Linked DNA regions of Homo sapiens: region 1 is linked to region 2. The links are contacts of gene promoters, found by promoter capture Hi-C in human tissues and cell types (Jung and others, 2019). All regions are on one chromosome and are shown on one strand. Each heading gives the region's core, a stretch centred on a gene start or on the middle of the fragment in contact. The rest is flanking DNA. Distances are from core to core; before and after follow the strand shown.

Region 1 (7,081 bases), core at 4,210-6,709, 750 kb before region 2:
CTCCATAGTAGAAAGACTGATAACACTCATGGCAGCTTGGAGGGCTGCTGTGGACAGCAGGGCGTCTACTGACAGCATTAAGACTGTGATGAGGGATATTTCCGTATTAAGACTTTTGGTTGGGGCCAGGCACAGTGGCTCATACCTGTAATCTCACCACTTTGGGAGGCCGAGGTGGGTGGATCATGAGGTCAGGAGTTCCAGACCAGGCTGGCCTACATGGTGAAACTCCATCTCTACTAAAGATACAAAAAATTAGCCTGGAGTGGTGGCACACATCTGTAATCCCAGCTACTCGGGAGGCTGAGGAAGGAGAATTGCTTGAACCTGGGAGGCGGAGGTTGCAGTGAGCCGAGTTAGCATCACTGCATTCCAGCCTGGGCAACAGGGCGAGACTCCATCTCAAAAAAAAAAAAAAAAAAAGAAGACTTGTGGTTGGAAGTGAGGCACAGCAAGCGGTTGGGTAGATACAGGCCATTTCTGGAAGCAGGTAATTAGTCTTCTCCATGTTTACACTTTCTAGGGGGTTTTTGGTTTTAAGAAAGTTTTTTGGTTAATTTAAGCTTGGTAGGAGAAATTGTGCTTGACGACCACTTAGCTGCTAATGTTTTGGAGGAAGACGTAGCCTTGGGGATGAGCTTGACCCTGGTGCGATGGATCCAGTTGGGGAATCTTTGGACTCTCACTGCAGCTGGTGTGCTGAGTATCACAGTGTAGGGGCCTGTCCACTTTGGTCGTAGCTTTTTGTGAAGGTCAGGTTGGCAGATGAACACGTCTGTTCCTGCAAGACAGTTATGTTGAGAGGACAAGGAGGTGTCGACAGGGAGAGGCATTGCCTCATTTGCTGCTTCATGGATGAAAGACCGTGTCTGGATTACGGAGGGGAGGTAATTCCTGAGTGGCTCAGAGTCTGGTGAGGATGGAGGCCCTAAGACAAAAGTTCGGCCATACATGATTTCGAAAGGACTATAAAAAGAGGGTGCTTTTGGTGTTGCGGTCTCATGATGGCAAAAGGGAGATTTCTTGTCCACGACAGATGGGTTTCTAGAGCTAGCTTGGTGAGTTGGGCTTTAAGGACAGAGTTGACTTTTTCAACTTTGCCTTGGCCAGGCATGGTGGCTCACGCCTATAATCCCAGCACTTTGGGAGGCCGAGGCGGGCGGATCATGAGATTAAGAGATTGAGACCATCCTGGCCAACATGGTGAAACCCTGTCTCTACTAAAAAAATACAAAAATTAGCTGGGCATGGTGGCGGGTGCCTGTAGTCCCAGCTACTCAGGAGGCTGAGGCAGGAGAATCGGTTGAACCTGGGAGGCGGAGATTGCAGTGAGCCAAGATCACACCACTGCACTCCAGCCTAGGTGACAGAGCAAGACTCCATCTCCAAAAATAAAAATAAAATAAAATAAAACTTTGCCTGAAGATTGAGCCCTGTAGGGTGTGTGGAGAACTCACTTTATTCCTCAGGATGTGGAGAACCCACTTTATTCCTCAGGATGTGGAGACACCTTAGATAAGGTGATGAAGGAGGGCCTGTTTTTGGACTAGATGGATGTTGGGAGTCCAAAACGGGGAATTATAGGCATGATGAGCGTTTGTGTGATGATATTTGCACCCTCTGAAGTTGTTGGGAATGCTTCTACCCACCCAGAGAAAGTACAAAGACTAGAAGATAGCGGAGCCATTTATCGGGCAGCATGTGAGTGAAATCTACTTGCCAATCTTGCCCGGGTATCTGGCCCTGGGCTTGGTGGGTAGGAAAAGGCAGTGGCTGGAGGGAACCTGGGTGTGACACTGAGTGGCAGATAGAGCAGGACTGGGTAATCTCTCAGACATGGCTGGAAAGGTGAGCACAAGTGAGAATAGGGCGGAGAAGTTGTAAGAGAGGTTTGTAACCGACATGAAAAGAGTTGTGGAGACTTTGGAGGATAGGAATTGTTTGAGAGTGAGGAAGAACGAAGTGCCCTTCCTTGACATACCGTGGTCCTTGCTTTTGGAGGTTCTGGGCCTGGAAGTCCTCCTTTTCTTCTGAGGAGGAAAGAGGAGAGAACAAGGACAGGGACAGAAACTGGCCTTGCATGGGTTATAGGGCTACTTGTTTGGCTACCTGATCTGCTAAAGCATTTCCGGCCGATATAGAATTGTCTGGGATTTGGTGGCCCCTGCAATGAATGATGGCAACTTTCTGTGGGAGACTGGCAGCTTGAAGGAGCTTGCTGATGAGAGAGCCATTTATGACACGAGTGTTTTTTGCAGTTAGGAAACCTCGTTCTTTCCAGATAGACGAGTGTGAGTGTACTTCATGGAACGCATAACGAGAATCCAAATATATGTTAATTTGTTGTCTGGCTGCTAGAGTGAGAGCTTGAGTGACAGCAATGAGTTCAGCTTTTTGGGAGGTGGTGCCTAGGAGGAGCGGAAAACCCCTGCCCCAGGTTTCGGCACCAGATGAAAGTTCTTGTATCGGTTCAAACCCCGAGAGCACGCCAATGGACAACACGAGGCGGTGTGGAGCAACACACTGTTTTAATGAGCGCCTGGGTGCAGGCGGGCTGAGGCCTAAAATGGCATCAGCCCCAAGTGAGGATGGGGCAGGGGTTTTATAGTCTCCTGTAAACAGGAAGTGTCCCAGTCTGACGTAACTGCTACGTGGTACCTGGGTGGCCTTTTTCTCGATCTTCAGAGTTACGTGTCTTCCGGCCAGGGGAGGTGTCTTCCGGCCTGGGTAGGTGTCTTCCGGCCGGCTCTCTTCCTGCTTCTGCTATCTTGCTGACGCACACTGCTAGCGCAAGTGGCCTTTTGCCTTGGGACTGGGCCTGAGAAGGGAGGAGTTACTCATCCCTTCAAGCTTTCAGGCCCTGGGGAGAATCTTTCACAGGGCAGTTATCTGGGGCTTCTCACTACACCTACACACCATGTTGCCCCCAAGTTCTGGTCCCTCTGCCTAGAATTCTTCTTCCCTGAGACTTTACATGGTTCTCGTTAGCATTCTTGGCATTCAGGATTCAGCTCACAGGACACCTCATTGGGTTGGTCTTACCCAATGCCTTCCCTCTTCCAACAGCCTCTCTCCCATACTGGTCTCTGTTTCGTGTTTTCAGAACTTATTAGAATTTGCAATTATTTTGTACTGTCTTTCTCACCTGTTTAGAAGGTAAGCTACTTGAGGGCAGAGACCTGTTCCCTCCTGTTTAGTGCTGTGTTCCCCAGGGCATATCAGCATCTGAAATACAACTGGGGAACAATAAACATCTGTTCATTTGAATGAACATCCATATAGGATAGGTTTCTATTAGTCACATTCTACAGACCACACTCTTCTAGGCTCAACTCTGAACATACTTCCTCATTCATGTTGGGGATGGTTATAAGCATGGGCTCTGGACCTAGATGATCTGCACTCAAACCCCATCGCTCTTCTGACTTCTCAGCTTATTTTTCCACCTTTGAAGTGGAATGTTGATGTGAGGATTAAATGAGTTAATAACTGTAAAATGCTTATGGTCATGCCTGTCATGTCTTACTAGTATTCCCCAGCATTGGGTACAGTGCCTGGTACATCTTTTATTTATTTATTTATTTATTTATTTATTTTTGAGACGGAGTCTCGCACTGTCACCCAGGCTGGAGTGCAATGGCGTCATCTCGGCTCACTGCAAGTTCTGCCTCCTGGGTTCACGCCATTCTCCTGCCTCAGCCTCCTGAGTAGCTGGGACTACAGGCGCCCGCCACCACGCCTGGCTAATTCTTGTATTTTTAGTAGAGACGGGATTTCACCATGTTAGCCAGGATGGTCTTGATCTCCTGACCTCATGATCCGCCCGCCTTGGCCTCCCAAAGTGCTGGGATTACAGGCATGAGCCACCGTGCCTGGCCAGTGCCTGGTACATATTGGTACCCAGTAAATAGTTGCTGAATGGGGAATTTTATGGCGTAGCAATTATGCTAGGCCGTCATTAGATACTGGGGTCGATTTTTAAAAAATCTCCTAGGACATTATAATCTGGGTGATGAGTGGTATACAAGCAGAAAAGGTAAAAATATCCCAAGAATGGGATGACTGTTGAAGAAAGCAATACAACCCTTTGTCACCTTGGAATCTGGTTCAGAGTGATCATGGCTTTGGCATTCAGAAGTGAGGGGGGGCCATTAAGTGTGGCTGGTGGGTGCAGGATTGATCTAACTCTCACGGAATAAGCAGGAGGTGAAACAGATAAAATGAAGAGGGTGGCTTGAACCTGGGAGGTGGAGGATGCAGTGAGCCGAGATCACGACACTGCACTCCAGCCTGGGTGACAGAGCAAGACTCCATCTCAAAAAAAAAAAAAAAAAAAAAAATGAAGAGAGTGTTTTTCCATGTGTGTTTTCATGGTGATGAAGAAAACCTTGTTCTGGTTTCTGATTAACCAACAAGTCCCTGGTGAATTTTGCCTAATCCCAGAAGGGCAGTCCCAGATCTTTTAAACTCACTTAAAGGTATAGCCAACAATAGGCAGGTGTATGCATAAATCACTCTAGGGACTTCCCCTAATAGAACCAAATCTTTCTACAGGTGAATTTTGGGGTACCATGAATCTCAGAGGTTGTTGTGCGGGCATGACATCATCCAAGTAGTCAGGGAATTTCTAGAAGGGTGGGGAAACAGATGTTACAGAAGGACAATGCCATCCTGGGAGGAGGGAATGGAAGAGGCTTCCATCACCAGGGGAGCTAGCTCTGGCCTTTGTGGCTCCTACTTTAGTGACATGAGAAAGGTAAGTGTCTATGTTTTGGTGGTTGTGCCTTAAGTCTTTTAATTGGGGGCCAGGGGATGGGGGTGGGGGGATTAACAATAGGAGTGTGTGTGTGTGTGTGTGTGTGTGTGTGTGTGTGCGTTTAAATATATCTGGCCAACCTGACTGGTTTCTTTCTCCTCTCTTTGGTAGTCTCTGGGGCTTTCATGTGAACCTGTTTCAACTCCTGAGGCCAAATATGCTCTATGTGTCACCCGGAGAGTCCCAGCTAAGAGGCCAAATGAGTAAAATGCAAGACATGAAGCTGGGAGGGGTCGGAATGCTGATCTGACCTCAGGCTGCTGGAGAGAAGTTAACTAGCTTTTTAAAATTTTTATTTATTTTTTTAAGAGATAGTGTCTTGCTATATTGCCCAAGCTGAACTTGACTTCCTGGGCTCAAGTGAGCCTCCTGCCTCAGCCTTCTGAGAAGCTGGGACTACAGAAATGTGCCACTGCACTTGGCTGGAACCAGCTTTTGAGGCATTCTTTGCCTCTGAAGAACCTAGGATGAAGTTCCTCTTACCTGAGGAAGCGGAGAAGCTTCCAGAGGCTTTGACTGTGCTGCTTTCTAACCCATGAGCCTGCTGTTTCCAGAAGGAACACTCTATTAGTCTGTTCTCACACTGCTATAAATAAATGCCTGGCACTGGATAATTTATAAAGAAGAGGTTTAATTGGCTCATGGCTGTACAGAAAGCATGATGCTGGCATCTGCTGGGCTTCAGGGGAGGACTCAGAAAACTTACATTCATGGTGGAAGGCGAAGGGGGAGCGAGCACCTCACAAGGCTGGAGTAGGAGGAAAAGAGAAGTGGGGGGAGGTGCCATACACTTTTTTTTTTTAAGACAGCCTCACTGTTGCCCAGGCTGGAGTGCAGTGGCACAATCTCAGCTCACTGCAATCTCCACCTCCTGGGTTCAAGTGATTCTCCTGCCTCAGCCTCCCGAGTAGCTGGGATTGCAGACACACACCATCATGCCTGGCTAATTTTTGCATTTTTAGTAGAGACAGGGTTTTGCCATTTTGGCCAGGCTAGTCTCAAACTCCTAACCTCAGGTGATCCACTTGCCTCGGCCTCCCAAAGTGCTGGGATTATAGGTATGAGCCACCGCGCCTAGCCGACACCATACACTTTTAAACAACCAGATCTTGTGAGAACTCACAAGAAGAGAACCAAAGGGACAGTGCTAAGCCATTCATGAAGGATCTACCCCCATGATCCCATTACTTCCCACCAGACCCCACCTCCAACATTGGGGATTACAATTCAACATGAGATTTGGGTGGGGACACAGATCCATATTAGATAGCAAAGTGCCTTTTGACAGGCAGAACCCTTTCATTACCTCCAGAAAATAATATAAATGAAAAATCAGGCATATATGTGTCTCAGAAGCCAAGGGGGTATGTAAAAATGGGAAATTTGAGAACACCTGAAAATTAGGATTTTTTTTGGAACACCTTCTGCAGATCTAAATTCCCATCAAGAGTTAGCTCCAAAAATAACCGCATCTGGTATCTTAGAGGTGTGAAGGCCTAGAAGAAAAGGAAAGTGGGGACGAGAAAGGAATTGCTATCCTCTTGATTTTATGAGTAAAATACAAAGCCTTCAAAGAAAGATGCACTTTTGTAATTTAAAACATCACTTTGTCGGCCAGAGGTGGTGGCTCACGCCTGGTGGCCCAGCACTTTGGGAGGCAGAGGTGGGCAGGATCACCTGAGGTCAGGAGTTCGAGACCCGCCTGCCCAATATGGCGAAACCCTGTCTCTACTAAAAATGCAAAAAATTAGCGGGGCGTGGTGGCGGGCGCCTGTAATCCCAGCTACTCGGGAGGCTGAGGCGGGAGAATAGCTTGAACCCAGGAGGCGGAGGTTGCAGTGAGCCAAGATCCCGCCACTGCACTCCAGCCTGGGCGACAAGAGCGAAACTCCTTCTCAAAAAAAAAAAAATCATTTTGTCAACATTCACTTATTGGGAAGAGGAGAAGAGAACCTGAGGCTATAGTGGAGAGAGCCGTTACAGTCCCATCAGTAACTGGAGCCCACATGGCCACATGGCAGTAATTCCCAACTTGAGGAAGGAGAACCTGCACCCTTAACCTCCACCTGAGTGTCAGCAATCAAGAAAGCCCCCTTTTGCCTCTGCTTCTCTTCCAGGGAATTCTGAAGACAGCTTCACTTAACAGGAAACAGGATGGTAGGTGGGGACCGAGGGTGAAAAAAGAAGAGTTACATGATGCGCATAATTTCAAGGGCCCTTGAGGGCTGAGCACAACCTATGTTGGAGGCAACAGTAGCAGCAGCA
Region 2 (6,677 bases), core at 2,439-4,938:
AGGACACAGCTCCACTTTACCCTGCCTCCAACACAGCTGACCTTCCCTCCCACGGAGTAACCCTGCAAGCCCAGGCTGGGCACAGTGGCTTACACCTATAGTCCCAGCACTTTCAGAGGCTGGGGCAGGAGAACTGCTTGAGCCCAGGAGTTTGAGACCAGCTTGGGCAACAAAGCAAGACCCTGTCTCCACAAAAAATTAGCCAGGCATGGTGGTGTGCACCTGTAGTCCCAGCTACTTGAGAGGCTGAGGCAGGAGGATCGCTACAACCCAGGAGGTTGAGGCTATAGTGAGCTGTAATCACCACTGTCCTCCAGCCTGGGCGACAGTGTGAGACTTTGTCTCCTAAAAACAAAAAAAAATTAAAATTAAAAGTACCACTTCTTACCTATCCCAGCAGCTACAGCATTCGGCCCACACAGAAGGCACTCAGGAAATGTCTTGAATTATGTCTGAGGAAGGAATAAATGCATGGAAGGAATATAGCTGACTATAACCAAGAAAAAACAATAAAATTTTCAGTATTTACAACCTCTCCCACATTAAAGAGGGCAATTCCACCTACGGATGCCTTTGTTTTGATGATGTGGTGGGAAATCATTTAGGAGAAGGAATACAAAGTCTCATATTTTAAAAGGAAAAATCCAGGGAGAAGGACGGGTGTGGTGGCTCACACCTGTAATCCCAGCACTTTGGGAGACAGAGGCAGGAAGATGGTTTGAGCGCAGAAGTTTGAGACCAGCCTGGCCAACATGGCAAAACCACTTCTCTACAAAAAATACAAAAAATTAGCTGGGTGTGGTGGTGCACGTCTGTGGTCCCAGCTACTTGGGAGACTGAAGTGGGAGGATCACTTGAGCCTCGGAGGTGGAGGTTGCAATAATCCAAGATGATGGCACTGAACTCCAACCTGGGTGACAGAGTGAGATCCTGTCTCAAATAAAAATATATGTATATATAAGAAAAAGAAAAATCCAGGGAGAGAGCTGGAAGTGGGGGCCAGAGGAAGGGAAAGGTTCATGACAAGAGCACAGCATGGTTTGGAGACCTAAGGAGAGATGTAGCAACTGCCAAAGGGAGCAGGTAGGGGGTGTGAAAAGAAAATAAAATTTTAGGACATTCCCAATTTATAATGTGAAGGAGAAAAGTGAAGCCCTGGAAACTGAGCAGGCATTGCTTTTTTTTTTTCTTCTCTGATGCATGACTGCTGCTTCCTGATCTTTGTATTGAAATGTTATACATTAACCAGGCTCCCTATTCTTCATTCAGACTTAGACTAGATGATGTGGGAGATAGAGACCCTTGTGATTGTTGTCTCTTTACAATAGAATGTTAAGCAAACTCCTTCCAGTATAATCAATAGTAGCCAACCAAATCTTGTATTTATGTTAGCCTTTTTTTGGAAAATGTTGTAATTCTGGTCAGCACTCCTGTTTTTGCCTATATAAACAATCTTTTTTTTTTTTTTTTTTGAGACGGAGTCTCGCTTTGTCACCCAGGCTGGAGGGCAGTCACGCAATCTCGGTTCACTGCAACCTCCCAGGTTCAAGCAATCCTCCTGCCTCAGCCCCACCAGTAGCTGGGATTACAGGCACACACCACCATGCCTAGCTAATTTTTGTATTTTTAGTAGAGACGGGGTTTCGCCATGTTGGCCAGGCTGGTCTTGAACTCCTGACCTCAGGTGATCCACCTGCCTCAGCCTCCCAAAGTGCTAGGATTACAGGTGTGAGCCACTGTGCCCGGCCCATGCCCAGCTAATTTTTGTATTTTTTAGTAGAGATGGGGTTTCACCATATTGGTTAGGCCAGTCTCGAACTCCTGACCTCAAATGATCCCACCTGCCTCAGCCTCCCAAAGTACTGGGATTGCAGGCATGAGCCACTGCACCTGTCCCAAAAACACATTTCTAATGTCAACCTAAAAATCATCAAAAGGTTCGATATCCAGTTAAAAGAATTTATTCAAGCATAAAGTGTGAGGGCAGCCATCCAGGGAAACACAGACACCAAGCAGTGGCAATTAGTGTTCTCCAGCATGGGGAAAGATGAAGGTTGTTTATATAGGCCGGGCGCCTGTAATTGTTTATACGCCTGTAATCCCTGCACTTTGGGAGGCCAAGGGCGGTGGATCACAAGGTCAGGAGTTCGAGACCAGCCTGGCCAACATGGTGAAACTCTGTCTCTACTAAAAATACAAAAATTAGCTGGACGTGGTGGCGGGCGCCTGTAGTCCCAGCTATTCGGGAGGCTGAGGCAGGAGAATTGCTTGAACCTGGGAGGCGGAGGTTGCAGTGAGCCGACATCGTGCCCAGGCTGCAGTGCAGTGGCCGTGAGCTGAGACTGTGCCATTGCAGTCCAGCCTGGGTGACAGAGCAAGACTCCACCTCAAAACCAAGAGAAAGAAATGTGTTTTTGTTTGTTGGTTTTTTTTTGAGACAGGGGCCCAGGTTGGAGTGCAGTGGCGTGATCAAGGTTCACTGCAGCCTCTACCTCCCAGGCTCAGGTGATCCTCCCATCTCAGCCTCCTGAGTAGCTGGGACTACAGGAGCATGCCACCACACCTGGCTCTTTTTTTTTTGGTAGAGATAAGTTTCGCCATGTTCCCAGGCTGGTCTCGCATTCCTAGGCTCAAGCGATCCGCCCACCTTGGCCTCCCCAATGTTGGGATTACAGGCGTGAAACACTGCGCCCTGCCAAGAAACATGTTTCAATAAAATTGTTAGGAAATCAAGTGTGTGATTTGTGATGCAACTCTCTCCTCTATCTCCCTAAGAAAACATCAGTAAAAACAGTGAACTGTTTTGTATTTTTGGAGTCTGATCAGGACTCATCTTATGAATGTGGGAAGGCATCCAGCCAACACAGGGTAGGCCCCGGATGAGAGTAGGGACAGCGAGGTAGGCCCAGAGTCATTAGCGTTTACATGCCGCTTATGTGCTTGAGGATCGCAGAATGGAACTCTTGCTAAGCCAGAGCTGTATTTGGTGGCCCATGGTGGGAGAGGGAAGAACAATAATAAGTTGTGGAATAAAAGCCATGGAGAGGAGCGGGAATTACTTAATCTGGCTCCAGAAGGGGTGAGTTGTGGGGAAGTAGTGATTCTCAGTTCGTTTGCTCAGCCCAGTCAGTGCCTGACACTCAGGGTGCATCTGCTGACTGACCGTACAGGATAAAGGAAGGGAGAGGCCGGGTGCGGCGGCTGAAGTCTGTAATCCCATCACTTTCGGAGGCTGAGGTGGGTGGATCGCTTGAGGTTAGGCGTTCGAGACCAGCCTGGGCAACATGGCGAAAGCCCGTCTCTACTAAAAAATACAAAAATTAGCCCGGAGTGGTGGCACATGCCTGTAATCCCAGCTACTCGGGAGGCTGAGGCATGAGAATCGCTTGAATCCGGGAGGCGGAGGTTGCATTGGGCCGAAACCGCGACTCTGCACTCCAGTCTGGGCGACAGAATGAGACCCCGTCTCAAAAAAAAAATCGGCAATCGGTGAGGCGGGGATTATTACCCTCAATGTAGAGATTTAAAAAATGAGGACTGAAGGTGACTCCTTCCAGGTCTGTCAGTGGCCAGCAAAGAGCCAATATGCTAAACTCTCCCCTCCCGGACACCGGCTTCAGCCAGAGCTCGCACCCGCCTGCGCCGCTCCACCCACCCACACTTCCGGCTTCCGCTCCGCCCACCCCCTAGTACTTCCGTTCTCCAGCGCTGGGCACCGCGGCCGGAGCTGTGGGCTGGTAAGTCTGCGCCGCCAGGGCTCGCATGGCCTTCAGAAGCGGTCCCTGGGCTGGGCGATGACGGGTCCTGGTGGCAGCAGGCCCTTCTTTCTCGCATCACCGGGCATTACGCGGCAGCCATTTCCCTCGCTAAGGCCCTACCTTAGGATGACGTCACTTCCGGCCCCCTACTGTCTAGGGAAAGCCGGAAATGGTACCAGCCTTCTTTGATGGCGGGGAGGAGTCAAGACCGGTAGTCTTCCTATTTCCGTTGTTTTGCTCTGGAGCCTCCCGGAGTTTCGGAGAGACCGTGTCTTGGATAGAATTGGAGGACTTAGCAAATAAAAATGCAAAGCGTCCAGTTACATTTTTTTTGAGTTAGAATCTCACTCTGTCACCCAGGCTGGAGTGCAGTGGCGCGATCTCGGCTCACTGCAACCTCCGCCTCCCCTGTTCAAATGATTCTCATGCCTCAGTCTCCCGAGTAGCTGGGATTACGGGCGCCCACCACACCCGGCTAATTTTTGTATTTTTAGAAGAGACGGGGTTTCACCACGTTGGTCAGGCTGGTCTCGAACTCCTGACCTCAGGTGATGCGCCCGCCTCAGCCTTCCAAAGTGCTGGGATTACAGGCGTGAGCCACTGCGCCGGGCCACGTCCAGTTAAATTTGAGTTAAGATAAACGACGAATAATTGTTAAGTCCTAAACATTGTATGCACATACTTATACTTTAAAAATTACTTGTTTATTTGAAATTCAAATTTAACCGGAAGTCCTGTATTTTCTCTGGCAGCCTTAGCATTGAGCGTCCCCCTGTCCTGTGCTCATACCCAGTGGCAAGGCTGGGATCTTCTAGGCTCTTGTCCATCTGGGAAATAGATACAAATTTCATCCAGGCTATAAAGACCGGCTGTCTTAGTTGCTAAGATGCTTTTAGCTCCAAGTCCAATGGGCAAGCTCCAGGGGTCCCCCTGGCCAAAACTGGACCCATTTTCGGAATCCCCATGACGATGCCCTCTGTGTTCCCTTTCACAACAGAAGTCAGGCATGGCTGTCTTTTCTTACCGGAGAGCTGAGAACTAGGCAAGCAAAATGGTCAAAGTCTAGAAGTAACCACCATATTTGGGTGTGGGGTAAACCGGTGTTTGAGATCTGTGTTGCAGTGGACAGTATCAGAGAGCCTGAGGTTGTTAAGGGAAGAGCGTAGTGTTAATCTCACCCCATGTCTCATTTTGCGGATGAGGCCCAGTGAGAGAAATGGAGGTGTCCCAGCCACTCAGAAAGCCTATAGTAGAGCTGGAACCTCAATTCCCAGCCTCCTTACCCTGCTCAGTCCATACTTGCTGATGAAGTCAGCTTGCAACATTTATGGTAGGCATTTATTAAAGTAGATGCAATAGTACATATGTAGTACAGATGAGCTGTTTGGGTCTTTGTTGTTCCTATACCCCTCTACAGCTTCCTGACCTTCGCCCCAAGGCTTCTTTAGCTTTTACTCTGCCCAGTGGGGAAAATGGCTATGGGCTCAGTTATGGGAGCCTGGCCTTTGCCTACTTCAGCCCTTGGGCTCTCACCACTGTGGGTGGTGTGACCTAGGACTTGTTTTTGTTATCTTGGAACCAGAAGGCGTGTTCTTGGCAGGGTTGGGTCTGGCCAACTGTGTGGGTAGAAGGGCATCCTTTTCTGTCCTGCAATTGGGCTTCATGGCACATGGCCTCACATGGTGCCTGGGGACTTTTCTAAGGTTCCACCATGAGCCAGACTTTGCCCTCACTCCTGATTTGAACCTAAACCTCTTGCTGAACTGGTCCTGCATACTGAGATTCCTCAGATTGCTTGCCCTGAGGATGTGTTCTGGGTTTGACCTGATAAACCTGCAGCCTCCTATAGACCCTGACTTCCCAGGCTCCTAATCCCAGTCTCATGAGATAATGAAATAGAGAAGACTGGAGGTCAATGGGCTCAGGGTCAGTTGGTGGGACAATCAACAGCTTCCTGGCAGCAGAGGTGGTAAAGAGGCAAGGAAGGAGTGCCAGAAAGGGGCGTTGCCCCAGGGTAACAGCGCAGAAGTGCAGGGGGTGGAAAAGGGGTGGGATGGGAGCCCACTGGTAGAAATTACTCCCTCTGTCAATGATTAACTCCCAGCCAAAGGGGTGACCTGGGAGGAGGGCCCAGCTAATAGGAACTTTGGACTTGAGGCAGAGTATCCAGAGGGCCGGCATGTGGTCTGCAGAAGAGGAGGACGTGGCTGGGTGGCAGGGCTGGTCTCCAAGGACGAGTAAGATCCTGCAGCTGCAGGCTTCAGGAAGTCTCCTGGGGCTATCAGATGGCTCCTTCTTGTAGCAGCAGCTGTGGGGTCCACTGGCCCTGAGCCCTCAGAGGGGCGGCCGTGGGGGACCTCCTGTCTTTTGCCTTGCAAGGGCCTCAGTTGTGCTTTTTCCCTCTAGGCAGCCATGGGTGCCAGGCAGTGCTGAGAGCAGTGGGGCATGGCTGCAGCCCTGCAGGTCCTGCCCCGCTTGGCCCGAGCCCCCTTGCATCCACTCCTCTGGCGGGGCTCAGTGGCCCGTCTGGCCAGCAGCATGGCCTTGGCAGAGCAGGCCAGGCAGCTGTTTGAGAGTGCTGTAGGTGCAGTGCTGCCGGGCCCCATGCTGCACCGGGCACTATCCTTGGACCCTGGTGGCAGACAGCTGAAGGTGCGGGACCGGAACTTTCAGCTGAGGCAAAACCTCTACCTGGTGGGCTTTGGCAAGGCTGTGCTGGGTATGGCAGCTGCAGCTGAGGAACTACTGGGCCAGCATCTTGTGCAGGGCGTGATCAGCGTTCCCAAGGGGATCCGTGCTGCCATGGAGCGTGCCGGCAAGCAGTAAGGAGCCATGGGGGCCTGCCTCCCTCTATCTATCTGGAGGGAAACCTGGGCCCAGACACAGGCTGAATCGGGCCTCCCCTCCCCACCCGCTTCC

What was found. The method cuts DNA at HindIII sites, captures the fragments that hold promoters and counts their contacts. A contact is called where the count stands out against the background at its distance.
Region 1: a contact is called between a fragment that was not itself captured here and the fragment with the promoter of GLYCTK in region 2, in 1 of the 25 tissues and cell types used here (hippocampus).

Annotation. Positions count from the first base shown.
Region 1 is chr3:51,531,232-51,538,312 of GRCh38, forward strand. It overlaps LOC105377085 (a long non-coding RNA gene), which reads left to right. Exons shown (of 3, transcript XR_940835.3): 2 at 4,555-4,756; 3 at 4,928-5,438. Among named protein-coding and RNA genes, the nearest start is that of RAD54L2, 3.9 kb to the right of the region's middle. The HindIII fragment of the contact is 7,506 bases long and covers 1,707-7,081 here.
Region 2 is chr3:52,284,140-52,290,816 of GRCh38, forward strand. It overlaps GLYCTK (glycerate kinase), which reads left to right and starts at 3,689. Exons shown (of 5, transcript NM_145262.4): 1 at 3,689-3,737; 2 at 6,165-6,580. The coding sequence starts at 6,204. GLYCTK-AS1 (GLYCTK antisense RNA 1) reads right to left here and starts at 5,594. Exons shown (of 1, transcript NR_046719.1): 1 at 4,441-5,594. LOC107986086 (a long non-coding RNA gene) reads right to left here and starts at 3,881. Exons shown (of 3, transcript XR_001740699.2): 1 at 3,694-3,881; 2 at 389-452. RefSeq lists enhancers at 3,274-4,015, 3,321-4,520, 3,347-3,456, 6,260-6,677. The HindIII fragment of the contact is 16,985 bases long and covers 1-6,677 here.